2 separate regions of the Homo sapiens genome follow, and region 2 is linked to region 1. The links are contacts of gene promoters, found by promoter capture Hi-C in human tissues and cell types (Jung and others, 2019). All regions are on one chromosome and are shown on one strand. The core of a region is centred on a gene start or on the middle of the fragment in contact, and the rest is flanking DNA. Distances in the headings are between cores, read along the strand shown. Region 1 holds the start of ADCY3 (adenylate cyclase 3). Region 2 overlaps NCOA1 (nuclear receptor coactivator 1).

Region 1 (3,012 bases), core at 363-2,862:
CAAACCACAAATAACTCCCTCCAAAAAAAATCCCCCCCAAAACCCAAAAACCTCCAGCAAATTAAAACAATGGGGCAGCCCAGAGCAGTGGCTCATCCCTGTAATCCCAGCACTTTGGGAGGCTGAGGTGGGCGGATCACTTGAGGTCAGGAGTTCAAGACCAGCCTAGCCAACATAGTGAAACCCCATCTACTAAAAATACAAAAATTACCCCGGGCTTGGTGGTGTGTGCCTGCAATCCCAGGTATTCAGGAGGCTGAGGCAGGAGAATTGCGTGAACCTGGGTGGTGGAGGTTGCAGTGAGCTGAGATCACAACACTGCACTCCAGCCTGGGTGACAGAGTGAGACTCAGTCTCGAAAAAATAAAAAATAGAAATAAAATAAAACAATGGGGCAAAGTTTTGCTTTATTTAAATTACCAAACTCCTATATCTGATGTTAGGTCCCCTACCTTTGGAATCAAAGCCCTGCGAAGTATGGGCTGAAGGTGGCGCCTTTTCAGACAGAGTGTGAGGGAACGGTAGAAACAGCAGTGGCAGGATCGATTCTCTAATGGATCCATTCCCCGAGGGATGCAAGGTGATGCCTGAGGTTCTGGAAGGGGTGCCCGCGGATAACTCTCAGGGGCATGGGGTGGCAGCTCCATCCAGGGTCTGGATAGCCAAGTTTCTCTCCCCTCTGTTCATTCCTTCAGCTCTCCCCAGGGGAGATGACCCCCTATTGCTGCTGGCTGTCCTCAGCACTTACCTTCCCACACATGCTTTTGTCCCTTTTGTCCCAAAACATTCTATCTCTTTCCTCTTCCTTTATTTAAATTCCCAAAGCCTGTAGTTGATCTTAGCACGGTGTTCTGTCAAATGCAAGGAAAATAATTTATACTATGGTGTAAGAGACTGATAGGTTTAACTATTCAAAGGAGCATTCGCATCTTTAAGGGACAGTTTGTGAACTCAAACACATCTCAAACGGGTAGAATGTGCACGGGAAATCTCTTCGAAGCAGGGTCTCAGGAACTCTTCCAGTTCCACGTGTGTAGTGCCCACCGGGCCACCGCCACCCGCCTCCTGGGAGCAGGACAGGGCTCCGCTGCCGAGCCCCTCTGCGGAAAGCTCAGGCCCGGCGCTCCGGAGTCTGGGCTCCCGGGGTGGGCGGGGATACTTAGGCCCCACGTGCCCCGCGGCGGAGCGGTCCCCAAACCTGAGCCCTGGCCTCTGCCGGCCCGGAAGGAAGCCGCGGCGGAGGAGGGGGCGGCGGGGTGCCCCGAGCGCGCCTCACCTGCGGGCGGGCGCGTCCCGGGCTTCCATCCTCCTAGACCGGGCCTCCTCGCTGGAAGGGGTGGATTCGCCCCAGCCCTGCCGCCCACCGCCCACCGCCCACGCCCGCGCCCGCGCCCGCGCTTCCACGCAGCCATCGCCCCAGCCCGCCGCCCGCGCCGGATCGGGGGCCGCCCGGGCCCCTCCACCTCTCGCCCGCGCGGGTCCTGGGACCGCCGCCCGGCGCCTCCCTCGCCGCCCCACTCCGGAACGCGCCGCCGAGAGGGCGGAGACTGGGGCGAGGGAGGGGCCGCCCCGCCCGCCTCCCGCCTCCCGCCTCCCGCCTCCCGGGGCCTGGAGCGCGCGTGGCCCCGGAGCCGCCGGCGCCGCGCGGGGAATAGCTGTGCAGCACGCCGAGCCCGGACTCGGCTGGCTCGGCTCGGCGCGGGCGGGCGAGAGGATGCTGGCGGGCTTCCCCGGGCTCGGCCCGCGCTCCCGCCGGGGAGGGCCCCGCGCGCGCCCCTAGCAGCCGCCGCCGCCGCGGGTGCAGGGGAGGGGTCCGGAGAGCCGCGCTCGCCGCCGCCCGCGCCTGCCGGCCCCCGCACGGCCCCTGCCCCTGAGCCTCAGCCCCAGGGCGGGCGCGCTGGGCCGGCGCCCACGGATCTCCCAGCCCTCGTCGCCGCCTCCTCCTTCCCCCTGCGGCCGGGCGCCCGCGGATGCTGAGGGGCAGCCCTGCGCCTCTCCCGGTCGGATCCCGGGCCTGACGGCGGGAGATCGCGCTCCGGCCGGGCCCCGAGGCGCTGCCGGGGCGGCGCGGCTCTGCGGGGAGCAGCCCTCGGGCGCGCCGAGCTCTCCCGCCCCAGCCCGCGCGGGGACCGTCCCGGAGCACGCGGTGGCCGAGTTCCCGCACAGGTAAACGCAGGGGCAGGGCCAGGCTTCCGGGGGGGAAGACAGCGCCCCGAGCGTGGGAAGGGGGCCGGATCGGAGCCCGAGCCTCCAAGGGTTTGGTGGAAAAAGGAAGTAAACAGAAGGAAGGCTCAGGAATCCCCCACGATGGTCCTGATTTCTTTCCGGCACATTTTATTTACAGCTTCTAAGGACTGGGCCTGGAGGGAATTTAGGTGAGGAAGTCGGGGACTGAGAAAGAAGAGATGACAGAGAGAAACCGGTTACCAGGGATGGAAAGGCGGCTAGGCCCTTCCACAAGCCAGGGACAGGAAATTGAGTGTCTGGCGTGGACAGGACTAAGTGTGCCTGCGGTGGGCGGTGGTGTGAGCCGGGGGTGGCAGGGAAGGCCCTGGGTTGGGAGGCTCTTGCAGCAGAGATCCTTTTATGAGGGTTAGGGCGGGTCATGGGGAAACCGCAAGGTAGGAGGGAAGAGGTGCTTCTACTCAGCAATGCCCTTTTCAGTTCTAGCTGATCAGTGCTACCTGTGCTCTGGAAACCCGCTCTGCGTTCCTGCTGGAGGTGGCCTCCCCTCCGCCCCAGACAAGAAGAGGCCCTCAGCCCTCCCCCGGTCTCAGAGAGCCCTGAGAGGAGGCCCAGTCCAGAGCTCTTCCTCCGTTCCCAGTCCACTTCTCTAGGGCCAGTAGCAGACACCAGCCAGTATGCCGAGGAACCAGGGCTTCTCCGAGCCCGAATACTCGGCCGAGTACTCAGCCGAGTACTCCGTCAGCCTGCCCTCCGACCCTGACCGCGGGGTGGGCCGGACCCATGAAATCTCGGTCCGGAACTCGGGCTCCTGCCTGTGCCTGCCTC
Region 2 (2,782 bases), core at 86-2,585, 420 kb after region 1:
GGGATACTTGAAGGGATACTTCCAGCCAATTTCTGTTGTATGCTATCAAGGTTTAAAGGACTTATCTTTAAAGGTACCCCAATTACACTGTATCATCTCTGAATTACTACCAGTTTGGCAAAAGACACACCACAGCACATTCAGTGACACTAGTTGTCTTCAACACTGTTCCCTCCGTGTAACGAGTAACGTTGGCTAGGGGCATCAGTCAAATAATAGACAGGGCTGGAACAAGGTCCAAGACTCCTCAAGACACATCCTGCCTTAAATCCTTTTTGGAACATGGCAAGGCATAAATAAATCAGTAAAATAAATCATGAACTATAAATGAGAGCCAGGGGCTTCCAACTTGTATGACCAATCTCATTTATACAGTCAGATACACTTATATTTATACAAAGAGACATTTTTACACCGAACAAACAAGTCCACTGCATCATCTTAAAAAATGCCAAGTGATAATACACTGTTTAAAAGAATACTTACTGCTTAAAAAAAAAAGTCAATGGTATGAAATAGAAGATAAAATGGAAAAGAAGTACACTAAGAACAATATAAAGCACATTTAGAGGGCATGAAATTAGATCTGATAAACAAAGGGCCATAGAACAATGCTGGAGGAATGTTGGAATATTGCAATCCTGGTTGGTCCAAAATTCATCTATATATTTAATAAACTCAAATCAACATCTAAGAATCACTGGGAGGTTAAAATTTTTTTTTAAGGTTGATGGCAGGATTTTCCTTATCAGTAACAATATATAAAACAGTAAGGAACTGCCACATATTAAATAGATGTATCTATTTTTGGAATAAAGAAATGCAGAATCAGAAAAAAGGGAGTATAGAAACATCAAAATGTAGACTTCAAAATAGTAGGGAATTATTAAAATGAATATGTTAATAAATTATGTTGGATCAACTGGCTAACTCTTGGGCAAGTATCATGCAATATGCATATCTCATATCACATGTAGGTTAAGGCATAATTCATAATCAAAAGTAAAAAACAAAAAAGTTAATTCGAAAAAAGTATAAGGCAGTGAAAAAGATTTTGTACCAACTTCTATTCAAAAAAAAAACCATATAATCTGTGTTTAAATATACATAAAAATGAGTGAATAAGTTCCCAATGTGGGTAAGCCTTACATATGGAATCATTTCAAAAACAAAAAATATGAAATTTGGGGTATAAAACCTGCCAAGAAAAGATCCACGTAAATTTGGAAAATTGACATTTCTCATTTTCATCCATATCTACATACTTACTACATACTGCTCCCCACCACCTCCCTCCATTAAAATCCACCAATGTTTTCTTACTACACCTAGACGATATGCTTCCCTCTCCCACTTCAGCTGATGCCACACTCCTTGCACTTTCCCCTGCATTACTCCGTCTTTTCATCTTTGCTATTTAATCTTCCTGAACATACTGTTCTCCTTGTCTCTATTCTTAAAGAAATCATCCCCTGCCCTCAATGCTTTTGTCTACCACCAAGTCCTCCATAAAACTTGCCCTGATTTTTCTCAAATGAAAATACAATAATCATTCCCTCTCCCTGAATGTTCAAAGCACTGTTTCAGGACCTGTCTCACAGCACTCATCACATTCAATTACTATTATAGGTATTTGTATGTTTGTCTTATCACCTCTCTCAGGTCATAATCTGCTTAAGAACAGGATCTATATTTTATCGGTTAATTTCCCAATAACCACTATCTTTTTACAGCACAGCACCTTGAACAAAGTACGTACTCATATAACTACGTCTTGACCGAATGATTGAGTAGCTACTTAGAAATTCAATTACAGACTACCTGTACCATTTAGAATGGAGAGGGAGATATTAGACATTGCAGAACAAATAACTTTTTGTTTCTTACAAACAAATTCACCAAAGTAAAGTCAATATTACACATACAGATGTTTTCAAAACTCAAGGACATTTCATCCTTCAACTATCTGGTCAAATATGATGTGATATGTTTATATACATACATACATTCACAATAGAATACCTACTGTTAAATAATCAAATCTATGCTTGATAATAAAAGTATGTAAATGTTTTAACTATATAGGCAAACTGGAATTTTAAGATAAAATCAACCATTCAAATTACAAGTGGAAACACAGAGAATGACCAAGCAATTTGTTCCAAAAAAATAAAAACAAAACCAAACCACACTAAGCTTTAGCTATTTAAATACCAACAAAACTTGAGAGGCAGAATTTTATGGCTAAGAATCCAAAACCAACCAAAGATAACCTTACCTGGATAGAAGCACCAAAGAATCAACATTACTGAAGTACAAAGGTGAGACCAGAAACAGCACAAGAATCTTTTTTTTTTTTTGAGATGGAGTCTCGCTCTGTCACCCAGGCTGGAGTGCAATGGCGCGATCTCGGCTCACTGCAACCTCCGCCTCCCTGGTTCAAGCAATTCTTCTGCCTCAGCCTCCTGAGTAGCTGGGACTACAGGCTTGCGCCACCACACCCGGCTATTTTTTGTATTTTTAGTAGAGACAGGGTGTCACCATATTGGCCAGGTCTCGAACTCCTGACCTCATGATCTGCCTGCCTTGGTCTCTGAAAGTGCTGGGATTACAGATGTGAGCCACCACGCCCAGCCCACAAGAATCTTAAAGTGACATTTTCATCAAGTAACTGGTATATATGGCTCCCGGGTCATCAGAAAGGAACAAGACTGCAGGAGTCTCCACAACACAGGTATTCAAGAGAAAGAAAGTCCAGAAAGAAAAAAAAAAAAGTATAATG

The links. Contacts are between HindIII fragments. The study calls those that stand out against the background at their distance.
Region 2: a contact is called between a fragment that was not itself captured here and the fragment with the promoter of ADCY3 in region 1, in 2 of the 25 tissues and cell types used here (dorsolateral prefrontal cortex and mesenchymal stem cells).

Annotation. Positions count from the first base shown.
Region 1 is chr2:24,918,837-24,921,848 of GRCh38, reverse strand. It overlaps ADCY3 (adenylate cyclase 3), which reads left to right and starts at 1,612. Exons shown (of 22, transcript NM_004036.5): 1 at 1,612-2,166; 2 at 2,665-3,012. The coding sequence starts at 2,862. It overlaps LOC124907742 (a long non-coding RNA gene), which reads right to left and starts at 1,505. Exons shown (of 2, transcript XR_007086246.1): 1 at 1,277-1,505; 2 at 391-851. RefSeq lists silencers at 1,058-1,147, 1,158-1,367, 1,408-1,467, 1,498-2,227. The HindIII fragment of the contact is 12,687 bases long and covers 1-3,012 here.
Region 2 is chr2:24,497,250-24,500,031 of GRCh38, reverse strand. All of the region lies in intron 1 of NCOA1 (nuclear receptor coactivator 1), which reads right to left. Among named protein-coding and RNA genes, the nearest start is that of NCOA1, 7.4 kb to the right of the region's middle. The HindIII fragment of the contact is 5,514 bases long and covers 1-2,782 here.